Linked DNA regions of Homo sapiens: region 2 is linked to region 1. Evidence: promoter capture Hi-C in human tissues and cell types (Jung and others, 2019). All regions are on one chromosome and are shown on one strand. Each heading gives the region's core, a stretch centred on a gene start or on the middle of the fragment in contact. The rest is flanking DNA. Distances are from core to core; before and after follow the strand shown. Region 1 holds the start of ZFP69B (ZFP69 zinc finger protein B). Region 2 overlaps SMAP2 (small ArfGAP2).

Region 1 (7,128 bases), core at 1,977-4,476:
TCCACAACCAGTCCATGGCTTCTCCAAGTATTATCTCCTCTAAACATTATCCTTCATCCACTGGACACACCTACCCACACAATCCTGGTACCATTCTTTGAATACATGTGGATAGTACCCCACCCAAATCCTATTTGGTGAAAAACTGCGATACCCTTCAGGCCCAGTTCAAGTAAAGTTTTCCCAGACACCCTTAATGAGAAGAAAGTTTATTCTCTCCTATGCTTCCCAAAAGCTTGGTTTTTATATCTATTCTAGTATCTATCTCAGGTTGCTTTTTATAATTAATTATCTCTCTCAGTTGAGTATTAATGAGGGTATGGATAGAAACTGTACCTTGCTCATTTTTCTCCATCTGCTAAAGTGCTACACATAACACACTGCCAGCTTTCTAGAATTTAAGTAACACTGGCTGAATTGAGGTATTAAAAATATGCACTACAGGCCAGGCCCGGTGGCTCAAGCCTGTAATCCCAGCACTTTGGGAGGCTGAGGTGGGTGGATCACGAGGTCAGGAGTTGGAGACCAGCCTGGCCAAGATAGTAAAACACCGTCTCTACTAAAAATACAAAAATTAGCTGGGCGTGGTGGCAGGCGCCTGTAATCCCAGCTACTTGGGAGGCTGAGGCAGGAGAATCACTTGAACCCGGGAGGCAGAGGTTGCAATAAGCCAAGATCGAGCCATTGAACTCCGGCTTGGGTGACAGGAAAAAAAAAAAAAAAAAACCACTAGGAATTAAGGCACATGAATAACTGTCTTTGTATTTTATTCCAACTTTTTATCATGAATATTGAACATCTATACATCCACATCTAGATTCAACAATTGTTAATATTTACCATATTTGCTTTACCTATCTACATTTTTTCTGAAGCACTTCAAAGTCGTCTGCATCATAATACTTTATCCCTAAATATTTCAAATAAGGATCTTCTCTTGTACAACCACAGTACTATTTATTAAATCTATGAAAATTAACAATAATTCCATAGTATCATCTAAATATTCAGTCCATATTCAGATTTCCTCAACTGTTTCCTCAACTTTTATTCTGGATTTTTTCCAAACCAGGAGTTAATCAAGGCTCACACATTCAAAGTGGTTGTTACCTCTAGTCTCTTTTACTCTAGAATAAGTACTTCCCCTTTCTTCATGATGTTGTCTTTTTAAGATACAAGAACAGTCTGACTGTATCCTCAATGTGAGGTTTATCTCATTTCTCCATCCCCTGTATTTTCTGTAAACCAGCAGTTCAGTCTTTAAACTTAATTTAGGATCATGTTCAACATTTTTGGTAGGAATACCTTGTAGGTGGTACCAGGTGCTTTATATTACAGTATCTGCAAAGTATAAAATGCCCGGCTATCCCATTACTGAGACATTTGATTAAAACTGTGACCACCACACCTCACTATTGGAAAATTATGTTCATTCCTTGCCATTTAGTAAGTAATTTGAGGGGATAATACTTTGATATCATGTGAGTATCTGTTCCCCATTAACCTTTCAATTATTTTATTTACGGTAAAAGATTCTATCATTCTTTCTACATTTATTTATTTATTTATTTATTTTTGAGACAAGGTCTTGCTCTGTCACCCAGCCTGGAGTGCAGTGGCGCCATCTCAGCTCACTGAAACCTCCCCTTTCCTAGTTCAAGCGATTCTCGTGCCTCAACCTCCCGAGTAGCTGGGATTACAGGCATGTGCCACCACGCCCAGCTAATTTTTGTATTTTTAGCAGAGATGGGGTTTCATCATGTTGGCCAGGCTGGTCTCAAACTGCTGACCTCAAACTCCTGGTCTCAAGCAATCCGCCCACCTTGGCTTCCCAAATTGCTGGGATTACAGGCATGAGCCACCACACCTGGCCTCTTTCTACCTTCATTATTGGCACGCATTTTCTGTAAAAAGCTTTCCCTCACCAACTGAAGAGGATCTAAAAGGCAAGGTAAATGCACATTCATTCCCATAATAACCTATTTTTCAAAGTAAGGAATCAGTGTATTAATTACCTCCAATGTTTGCAAATGAATTCCCCCCCCCCCACGTCTTTCTCTATTTTAAGTGTCAAGGTGATCATGTGGAATTTTACTTATTCAAGGTGTTACCATCAGTTTGGATACTTAAGCTTTCCCAAATCTGTCGAGTGAGAGACCCTTAAACCTGGCCTCTTTTGACACATATCCATAGTCTTTAAGCTCTTCCTTGCTTTCTAGCACAAGTTACTCCAGGCTCACCTGGTACTTCCCCTGCTGCTTCTCTTTCTGACCTAGCCACCAAGTTCCTGTGTGACCCTGGGCAGGCCTCCCATTTGATTTACATTTCCCCACTGTTAGAATAAGAAAAATCAGGTTAAGTCCATCCTGCCCCACATGGCCATGGGAAAGATGAAAATAAATAATATACATAACCATGACACTGAAATACTGGTCCTAGGCTGAAAAGACCACCACTACTTAGGAAAACCCCAGACTAGGAGCCACAATCAACAACTCCGGAAACCCTCCACCCACTCGTCTCCCTAAGAGATGCTTCCACTCAAGTGACTCATTCCTTCTCACACTAGAGGGGACTGCTTTTCCTCCCTCCCACCCATCAGTTTATTCTTACCTTCTGCTTTAAACATCTTAGTCACATCCTCCCACAGGGCCACCCGCTCCGTGGCCGCCTTTGGATGACGCAACTTCACCCAGGTGCTGGCCTCGGTGGGCAGGGTGATCAGGAGCTGCTGCAGCATGACGGCGTCCGCACTCCTTTCTGAGGACCCTCTGTCTTAGCCCATAGGGCTTGTCCACCTCTGATGAGGAAATTGCTGGAAGCTCTGACAGGAGGCTTCCCAATTGTACCGATCTCCTTAATCGCCGACTCCTACTCCTCAATGTCCTCTCTCAGGAACCCAGGGAACATACAGTATCAAAATCCGAGATCTGGACTTGTGTCTATCATCGGCTCTCAGGGCGTATCTCCCAACTTGAGCTCCATCTGTCTCCTTGGCCAGCAGCTGGAGGCGCCAAGTATTTACTCTCAGCAGCCCCTGCAGATGCTGAGCAGAAGACATTAGAATCAGCAAAGGACTAAGGAGGCTCAGTCATAGGGCAGAACGCTAGAACATATATGGATCACTGTAAAATGTTTCCAAAAGATACACGGAGACGGTGGGCAGACACAGCCCACAAAATTCAAAGCACCGCGCACATGTCAGGAAGCACAAAGAGACGAATACAACCCAATTCTTTGTTTGGGGCAGTAATTATGTGTAAAGTAGCCGGGGATTTGGAATCCCAGCTCTTTCACTAGTCGGCTGTAGCAAACCGCGAAACCGCTAGACCCCGCCTCCTCCTCCCCAAATGAGAGGCTAAGTCCTCCCCACAAAGCAAAACGCCCCCGGCCCTAGCCTCCCAGCCTTTGTCTGAGCACGACTCCGGGGCTGCGGAGAGCACCGCGCGCGACAGGGTGGCCGCGGGCGGAACTCGCGCTTCCCGGCTCGCCCAGCTCCCCAAGCCCGGGACAGCCACCCGCTCACCCTCTCCCCGCTGGGCCGGCACGCCCCCGCCTTCCCACCGCTGCAGCCGGGTTCCGGCACTGCGCGGCCAAGCTCCCACGTAGCGCTGCGGCGGGCAGTCGGGGCCCAGTGCGCCTGCGCAGCGGCTGGCTAGAGCATGGTTCCCAGCGTCCTCCCGGGGAGCCGCTCCGCCAGCGCAGACGCCCCCACCGGTGCGCGCCGGGTTGGCTGCGTTCAGGGGCTCCCAGTATCCGATCCCTGCGAGCATCATCAGCCTGGCTCCTGCGGGAGGAGATGGAGCCTGCGTTCTTGGGCCCCAGACTCTGATGAAGAACAACCATCTTTCCTCCGCTGGGAAAATGCACGTGAACGTTAGGGTGAGCCTTTGAAACCCGTGACAAAAGGGAGCCATCGGCATCACGTTTTTTGGTGAAACGACACTGGTGTAAAATAATCCATAGCACTTTCCCTAAATATTATGTACATGCCAGTTATTTATTCTCAGCAGACAGTTGAATGGATTCCGGTATATTGTTAAAAGAATACCACAACAGTTTTCTCTTCTAGTATTCAATAAAAGTTCTCATGTTTATTGCTTACCTTGTATTTCTGAAATGCCAGAAAATACACAAAAACAAAAAAATTATTGCCTGTAATTTCAGCAAGCAGCGGTAACCTTGCTAACAGTTGGTGTACAACCTTTCCTGCACACACACAACGTATTTCATGCATTGTTATATATTTTCCACAAAAGCGATTATACTGTAATGCTGTTTTATTGCTGAGTTTTCTCCCTCCAACAAAATTTGAGTACATCACTCCAAATACATTTCTACATCAACAGTTTACAAAAACAACAAATGAGGAAATAGAATACAATTATAGTACTTGCTAGCTGTTATGAACCGAATGTTTGGATTCCCCAAAATTTATCTTGAAGCCCTAACCTCCATTGTATTTGGAGAGTATTTAGAGATAAGGCCTTTATGGAAGTAATTAAGGTTAGAATATAGTCCTAGTCAGAAACGAACCCAACTCGACCTTACTTGGGGCTTCTAGTCTCCACACTGAGAAAATAAATTTCCGGTTTTTTGTTTGTTTGTTTGTTTGTTTTTTTGAGATGGAGTCTCGCACTGTCCGCAGGGCTGGACTGCAGTGGCGTGACCTCGGTTCACTGCAACCTTCGCCTCCTGGCTTAAAGCGATTCTCCTGCCTCAGCCTCCCAAGTGGCTAGGATTACAGGCGCCCGCCACGACGCCCAGCTAATTTTTTGTATTTTTAGTACAGACGGGGTTCCACTATGTTGGCCAGGCTGGTCTCAAACTCCTGACCTCGGTGTCTGCCCGCCTCGGCCTCCCAAAGTGCTGGGATTACAGGCATGAGCCACTGCGCCCGGCCAGATATCCGTGGTTTAAGCCACCCAGTCAATGGTATTTTGTTACAGCAGCCCAAGCTGATGAATACACTAGCATATAATAGTTACAGAATATGAGGCTCTGTCCTAAGTGCCTTTCATATTTTAACTTATTTTGTCATCACAGAAACCACTGGAAGTAAGTACTATTATTATTCCCACTTTACAGATAAGAAAACTGAGATTTAGAGAAGTTGAATAACTTGCCAAGATCATGTGGCTTACAAGTGGTGAACACAGGCAGTCTATGTTCCTATCTGCTACTCAACAAAAATACAGCATGAAATACAATAAAATGTTAATGGTAGAATCTAAGTAGTGGTATAGGGATGCCGTAATGTAAAATTCTTTCAATTTTTCTGTATATGTATATGTTTTCATAATAAAATATCAGAAAAATACAGCTAAGAATAAACAAGAATTATGCAGGAAATTATAAATAAAACTCCAAATTTTTTGTTTAAATGGTGAGAATAGTGATACAACACATTCACGAGTTGAAATAGAACATTCTAAGTATGTCACTCTTCCTCCAGTTCACATAAACTGTGATGCATCCCAATCAAAATTTCAACTTTTTCGGCCGGACATGGTGGCTCACACCTGTAATCCCAGCACTTTAGGAGGCCAAGGCGGGTGGATCACCTGAGCTCAGGAGTTCGAGACCAGCGTGGTCAACATGGCGAAACCTCATCTCTACTAAAAATACAAAAATTAGTTGGGTGTGGTGGTGTGTGTCTGTAATCCCAGCTACTCAGGAGGCTGAGGCAAAAGAATCGCTTGAACCCAAGAGGTGGAGGTTGTAGGGAGCCAAGATCATGCCACTGCATTCCAGCCTGGGTGACAGAGCAAGACTCCATCTCAAAAAAAAAAAGAAAATCAACTTTTCTTTTTACTAAACTAAATGATTCTAAAGTTTAGCTAGTATGGCAAGTGTTCCAGAATGGCCAATAATGTTTTCCAACAATAATGAAGGCAGACTTGCCCTACCAGATATTACCTTGTATTATGGAGGCAAAATAATCAAAATAAAACTAGTGCCAAAATATACTCGGAAATCAGTGAGATGAAATTGGAAACTCAGAAACAGACTTGACACTTTATTTAAATTTAGTATATTGTAAAGCTGGCGTTTCAAAGCAGCTGGGTAATGATGGATTATTCAACAAATATCATTAGGACAACTAGTTAGCCATTTGGGGAACAGTATGAGTCTTCACTGGCTGACAACAAAATACCATAGACTGGGTGGCTTAACCAACAGAAATTAATTTTCTTATAGTTCTGGAGGCTGGGAAGTCCAAGATCAAGGGGTGAGCAAGGTAGGTTTCCTTCTGAGGCCTTTTCTCTTGGCTTGTAGGCAGCCACCATCTCCTTGTATGCTCACAAGACCTCTTCTTGTGTGCTTGAGGAGAGTGAGCTCTCTGATGTCTCTTCTTTTAAGAACACTAATCCTAACAGATCAGGGCCCCACCCCTGTGACCTCATTTAAACTTATTACTTCTATAAAGGCCTCATCTCCAAATACAGTCACTTTAGGGGTTAGGGCTTCGACATACTCGTTTGTGGCAGAATACAAACACTCAGCCCATAGCAAGAACAAATCAAGTTGGGTTCCTGCTGTACATGTTACACATCGTATAATTTCAAGAAAGTAAAGTTTTGTTTTCTTTTTCACTTTTTAATTTTTTTAATTACCCCGTATCCTAGTCAAAGTAAACTTTTGTTTTAAAGTAAAAGCACAACTGTTAACGTGTTCACATAAAGGTGATTCTAGCCATAGTTTTGGGATAAGAAACTATTCTATACATAGGTTTGTGATTAAGGCCCTATTATTTGCAAGTAACTAGCTCACCAGAATTGCTTTCTAAGTTAAAATGATTATTATTATTGTTGTTGTTGGAAGGATTCTGGAGTCTTCAGGAATTCGAGGAAGAACTGGTTAGCCTAGTCTGTGAAAGTTTACGAACCAGCGGATTTCTGAGCACCACAAAGCAAATGCCCAGAGAGATGCCCTCTAAACCACCACCCTTAACATGATTCAGCTCTGGCAACTTTCAGTTGTGTTACTCAGTTCAAAATTCCAAATTTTGGCAGGATCATTTGATCATTTGGCTTTGACCAGGGGCCACGGAGTGTCATGGTAGAAAGACTTGGCTTCTGGGCACCCACCCCATGAACAGTTAGCAGTTCCCAACGAAGGGGAAAT
Region 2 (6,493 bases), core at 106-2,605, 64 kb after region 1:
CTGTGCGCCCACACACCTCAGCCCTTGGGTGGTTGATGGGACCGGGTGCCGTGGAGCAGGGGGCGGTCTCGTTGGGGAGGCTCAGGCTGCACAGGAGCCCACAGAGGTGGGGGGAGGCTCAGGCATGGCGGGCTGCAGGTCCCGAGCCCTGCCCCGTGGGAAGGCAGCTAAGGCCCGGTGAGAAATCCAGCGCAGCGCCGGTGGGCCGGCACTGCTGGGGGACCCAGCACACCCTCTGCAGCCGCTGGCCCAGGTGCTAAGCCCCTCATTGCCCAGGGCCAGCAGGGCTGGCCGGCTGCTCCAAGTGCGGGGCCCGCCAAGCCCATGCCCACCCGGAACTCCAGCTGGCCCACAAGTGCGGCACACAGCCCCGGTTCCCGGAGCTGGCTCCCTCCACACCTCCCCGCAAGCCGAGGGAGCCAGCTCCGGCCTCGGCCAGCCCAGGAAGGGGCTCCCACAGTGCAGCAGTGGGCTGAAGGGCTCCTCAAGTGCGGCCAGAGTGGGTGCCAAGGCCGAGGAGGCACCGAGAGCGAGCGAGGGCTGTGAGGGCTGCCAGCACGCTGTCACCTCTCAATGTGAAAGTGCCGGCCCATCTTGCTGTGGTATGACCCATAAAGCTGTTCCTTATGTCCCTTATGTTCCTTAGGTCCCTTATGGGGAAACCAGGGTTCTCCCGAATTCCCCATTCCTTGCCTCAGCAGACATCTACTGCAATGAAGCAGTTCAGAATGATAATGCCCATAGCAAAGCCATCTCTACGTGGGCTCAACCCAGAGAATCCCCTTGGTAACTTTTTAAATTAGAGGGCCCACTTGACTACTCAAATCTGAACACATAAATAACCCATCACTCTAACAACAACACAAAAATTTATACTTCCTTATTTGTATTGTTAAAAAATTGAAAATTCAAATATTAACAATTGGGCAAGAGATAATAATGACATATTCCAATGCTGGGATACAATAAAGGTATTTACACGTTTTTAATGTCATGAAATAAGCTTATAATAAATGTTAAGCAAAAAAGAATGATATAAAATCATTATGGTATAAGCTCAAGTAAATGGGTGATAAGAATTATGAAAAATAAGGCCGGGCATGGTGGTTGATGCCTGTAATCCTGGCACTCCGGCAGGCCGAGGCAGGCAGATGATGTGAGCTCAGGAGTTCGAGACTAGCCTGGGCAACATGGCAAAACCCTGTCTGTACTAAAAATACAAAAATTAGCTGGACGTGGTGGTGTGCACCTGTAGTCCCAGCTACTATGAAGGCTGAGACAGAAGAACTGCTTAAGCCTGATAGAGGCTGCAGTGAGCTGAGATCGTGCCACTGTACTCCAGCTTGGGCGACGGAGCGAGAGACCTTGTCTCCAAAAAAAAAAAAAAAAAAGAATTATGAAAAATACCTTCAGCATCATTATATTTTTCATACTTTCCAATGATTTTTATCGTGGATAGGTTTCAGAATCATAAAAGATAAAGTTGTTGTTGTTTTAAAAAAAACCAGCATTTACTGATGTTTAGATTATAAGCACAGGGATCCTCCTATCTCCCCAGCTCCTAAAATCCCACAAGACAGAAAACAACTGGTCTGTTCCTATGGCAACAAATCTTTTTTTCCTTAAATGTATGAGAAGTCTAATGAAACTGGGACCTATTTTTACTCTGCCCGTAATATGGACCCTTGATCTGAGCCACTTGTGTCAGGCTACTTCTGTCGAGACTAGGCTCAGAACAAGTTAGAATGCTCAGGGAGCCAAGCCGGAGTCTTCCTGATTCCAATGTTTCATTTAATGAAGCTTCCTTTCTCTTTCATATAATCTGGGAATGTTAATACTGTAGTCACACTACAGGAAAGACCTTTCCTCAAGTTTCTCCTCCATCTGTAACGGTTCCTCTAACCGAACTCTTCATGCCTACTTTCAGAGAGACAAAGTCAATCCCTGTTCCAAACAGCTAATCTTTCAGTAAAAATGATTTCAACATAGCAGAAGAGCCTGAATCTCTTAATTCATTCTTTCTCAAATCAGCTGTCACACTCAAATTGGTTTCCGTCAGCTCTGCTGTTTTCAGCTATTTTGAACAAAAGCATCATGGTAAGAACAGGGAGTTTCCTTCCTGTTTCTCTTCTCAGGGTTTGTGTCAGTTATAAGGAGTGATAAAGTGTCAACAACAACAAAAAGACACCAATGCCCCCTTCTCTACAAGCTTTACACTACAGCATATGATGTCACCAGTTCACACAGAAAATTCTGTAAGAAATTATTTTTGAAGGCACAGAACAAAAACAACCACCTAAACAATATCAAGACAAAACTTCCTTAACTCAAAACTAGAAACACTAGAGAACTCATTTCTAAATCCACACATTTGGGGACTTCCAGTTAGACAAGAAAAGAGGAAGTTAAAGAACAAAATGTACTGTGTGCGCACTTCAGACCACTGAGGTGAAATAACATTGTAGGATTAACATGTAAACCCACATCTAAAGATGTAAGCTCTGTGGTAGAGGCCTGGGGATTTATGGTATTCCGTCACCAGCAACTGCTGCAAAAGACAGCATGGCTATTTGAAGAAAAGGAAAAGAAAAGGTGCTCTATTTGCTCAAATCACCATGCTAGGACACACTTATCAGCTACAGCTGAGAGTAGGTCTCTCTCCCTCTCGCATTTGCTTCACTGTTTCAATACATCATAAAATGAGAGCATTACACATTTGATTTGTGGGTGAGGGGAAATGACATGAGGCCTGAGGAACCCAGTTCTCATTGTTTCAGATTAAGAAATTTCTTTTTGGAAGCTTTGACCTGAAATGTTTTTTTTAAAAAAGTATTTTCCAAGTAAGCTTATGAAATCCAGAACTTAAATAAACTGTATTCTATATGTATTTAAAAGCAAACCAGAATTCCTATAGGAAATCTATGAACTGAGGGGAAAAGAGGGCTATGGTCAACAAAATTTGTCAGAGAATCACTTAACATTAATTGAAAATGAAAAAAAGCAACAATAATAAAATTCTACTACTACCGAGTGACATGCTACAAAGGTGGGATTCCAGGGCAAGCTTCAGCCACACATGAGGGAGGATGGGGGATAAGGGGAAGAGCTGGACAAACTGAAGACGACCACCAGAGCAACCTTACGCTGACGGATGGCCACAGCTGAGGCAGATCTGGCTCATCTCTGGGGCTTTCCACTGGGGAGAGACCTGCAGTTCAGCCATCAGTGGACCGGCATTCACAAAGCCTGTGGGGAAACACAGGATCCAGAAGAGTGGGGTAGGGAAGGAGAAAGTGTGGGAAACGGAATAGTCAAACACAGCAGTGAAATATTATATTTATTAAATATGAAGCTTCAAAAATGCATAGATGGACCTCTTAAGTTGAAATGGACCAGCTGAAAAGAACTGGTACTCTGGGAAGCAGTCTGATATGCTTTTTCAAATCCCAAATTACATTTTCATTACACCTGTGAATTATAGTAACACCTGCCAAGAGGAAATGAGTTTTTTGGAGAAAAGAAAGAAACAAGGAAACCTATGCAATTGTTACAGTTGGTAACTTCACTCAAACAACGAGAGTCCTTTATCTGTGGCCTCTGTGGGAAGTAACAGCCTAAAAGCAAACATACTCACACTGCACTGAAAACTCTGCTGGCCTAGTTCCACCAATTCCATTAATATAGCAAGGGCCCAAATGCAGGTGACCTGATTGACAAAAAAAGCACTTCTAGAAAGGGCTGAACTTGTCTCATATAACTCATTAGACACTTTTATAATCACGTAGAAAACAAGTAGCCACAACTTGGAAAGCTCTGCCCTTAAATGGAGCAGCAGCAACATTCCTTACAAGACAAAATATTTTTTTCAGGTCAGGGTAGAAGAAAACAGACCCAGTGATCTTGCCTCCCTCACCCAGTGCAAACTTATCTGAAGTTGTGGGGTAAAACAAACAAATCAATAAGACTAGTTAAACTAACATGCAGCACAAGATAAAACAGCCACACTGCAGTTACCTTAACTGTAAAGAAAACACTGAGCTGAGGCCCGGCCTTGGTGGCTCACATCTGCAATCCCAGCACTTTGGGAGGCCAAGGAGGGTAGGTAGCTCACTTGAGGCCAGGAGTTTGAGACCAGCCTGGCCAATGTGGTGAGACCCTGTGTCTACTAAAAATACAAATAATTAGCTGGGCATGGAGGTACACACCTATAATCCCAGCTACTTGGAAGGCTGAGGCATGAGAATCACTTGAACCCGGGAGCCAGAGGAGGCAGTGAGCTGAGATCGCATCAAAGCACTCCAGCCTGGGCAACAGAGCAAGACTCTGTCTCCAGAAAAACGAAAGAAAAAAAAAAGAGTGAGCTGTACCATGTTTTAACGCTGCAATCCTCAACATTTTCTGTGTATGGCTTCTGTGTGACTAACTCAAGCTGTCCAGTTGTAGATATACTCAATGTGGATACACCATACCTAAGACTTCCCAGAATTGACAGGGTGGGAACTTATTTTCTGAGTAACCAAACGATAAGTTGCTCCTGGCAGCAGCCAACAGTCAAATACATATTCAATACAGGAGCCAATTTGCCTAGTCATACCCCCTAAGTATATAAACTATGACTGAGTTGTTACATTACTTCCTGGGACTAATAATTGTTTCAGCAACAGTCAAGATCCTTTAGAAGCACGCAATGTTATATCTGCCGGAAAACCCTTCCGTTCTCTTGTCCAAAATAATTCAAATACTATAAGGGGAAAGAAATTACATCTTGGAGAATTCAGTGCCTTTGTGTCTTTGCCTGTTTGCGCTGGGATCCCTCCCTTGCTCCGCTTGATCACAGGGAACTACATCTCCCAGGCTCCCTTTGCCAACTGATTTCAGGATAAGTTCCATCAATGGGAGGCACTGAGGAGGATAAGAGGCAGGAGCAGGGAGCAGCCAGGGTAATACGCTCTCTCACTCGGCCTACTTCCAGCTGCCACCAGACTGCTCCTCTTTCCATGCTTCCGCTCACACCAGACCACTCGGACTTCCAGCCCTTGGTGACACCAGTGCACTATTTTCCTTGCAGGCATAGTAGTTCCCAGGCATTGCTAATCGAATGGGTGCCTCACCAGCCCCTGTTCAGCTTCTTGGCTCTTCTAGCAGCCTTGTAACCTACTCCCTATTTTAAATTCCCTCTGCTTATAAGACCAACAGTGGCTTCTGTTCCTCTGACTGGTCCTTGACTGACATAGGGCCTTCCAAACATATTTTAAAACTTATTTTTCAGAAAATTAATAGCTTTCCTAAGAATTAAAACAATTATTCAGATAACCTAGAAAAGGTCTCTTCTAATATGAAACAAAACATTTACAGATGATAAAATCAATTCATGCATTCAAACAAATATTTACTGAGAGCCTGGTCTGTGCCAAGCACTGTTCTAGGTGCTGGGAACACTACAGTGAACAAAACAGGCATAGGCCCCTGCCCCCTAGCTTACATTCTAGGGATGTGTAAAGTGTGGCACATTATGATTTTAAAAATTAGCCAATATAGGACTGTTGCTTTAACAATAGAGGAATTTGGTAAAAGTGGATTAACTTTAAGGTGTTCTACTCTACAAAGACTTGGTTCTTACCTTTTCAATGTGGTATGAACTGTCACATTCCAGGGGCCAATACAGAACTTCTTCAAAGCTAGTATCTAGTTAAACTGGCCACTTGATCAAACAGGAGTACAACTGTGGTAAGGATTTAAGCAGACACAATAACAAAAGGTAGGCACTGTATGCTTACAGTGTAAAGCATATGCATGTTTTATGCAGAATCTTGCTTGGCATCATTTTTACAGGAAATACCATTTGGAGGAACTGAGTCTGACTCAATTTAATAAGTCACTTTATCCCTTCACTGTAGCACAGGTAGAGTCCATCAACATAACATACAAAGCCAGTGGCAGTGTACATAACAAGTAGAATGTCGCAGTCACCGATTGCATGACACGATTTCCAAGATGGAATTTTCAGGCAGAAGAACAGAAACAGACAATGACTCATGTGATGAACAGTTATATAGACAACTGTGCCCAAGAAAGCTGCCACCTACATACCATAATGACATCAGATGAAAAATGCAGAAAAAAGGTAGTTTTCCAATTTATCTAGAAAAAAAAGATTTGCTGAAAAGTATATATACTGAGAGATGAGACTGCAGCTACCTGTTTATGCATCCTAAGCACTGAGCAACCAGGAGCACACATCAGGTATTCCAAATATGACCTGCTTGAGGCTAAGAGCATGTTCAGCCTCAAAAATCAACATCAAGAGCTCCAGAAATAACATAGTATCTACTGCTGGCACTTCACTAGACTTATGCTAAAATAATTTAATGTACCCACAAAGGTACATTTCAATGGAGAATTTAATCGGCACCATGCTCAGACCTTTCTTACTATTCAGCGATCAGGAAGCGTTTCATGCCTGCAATATTTATAACCCCATGTGAATAGCAGG

What was found. Contacts are between HindIII fragments. The study calls those that stand out against the background at their distance.
Region 2: a contact is called between a fragment that was not itself captured here and the fragment with the promoter of ZFP69B in region 1, in 2 of the 25 tissues and cell types used here (aorta and hippocampus).

Annotation. Positions count from the first base shown.
Region 1 is chr1:40,446,574-40,453,701 of GRCh38, reverse strand. It overlaps ZFP69B (ZFP69 zinc finger protein B), which reads right to left and starts at 3,226. Exons shown (of 5, transcript NM_023070.3): 1 at 2,614-3,226. The coding sequence starts at 2,740. It overlaps ZFP69B-DT (ZFP69B divergent transcript), which reads left to right and starts at 3,663. Exons shown (of 5, transcript NR_198977.1): 1 at 3,663-3,882. RefSeq lists an enhancer at 1,933-3,132 and a silencer at 3,348-3,607. The HindIII fragment of the contact is 23,553 bases long and covers 1,076-7,128 here.
Region 2 is chr1:40,381,752-40,388,244 of GRCh38, reverse strand. All of the region lies in intron 1 of SMAP2 (small ArfGAP2), which reads right to left. Among named protein-coding and RNA genes, the nearest start is that of SMAP2, 11 kb to the right of the region's middle. RefSeq lists an enhancer at 2,231-2,500. The HindIII fragment of the contact is 3,706 bases long and covers 1-3,208 here.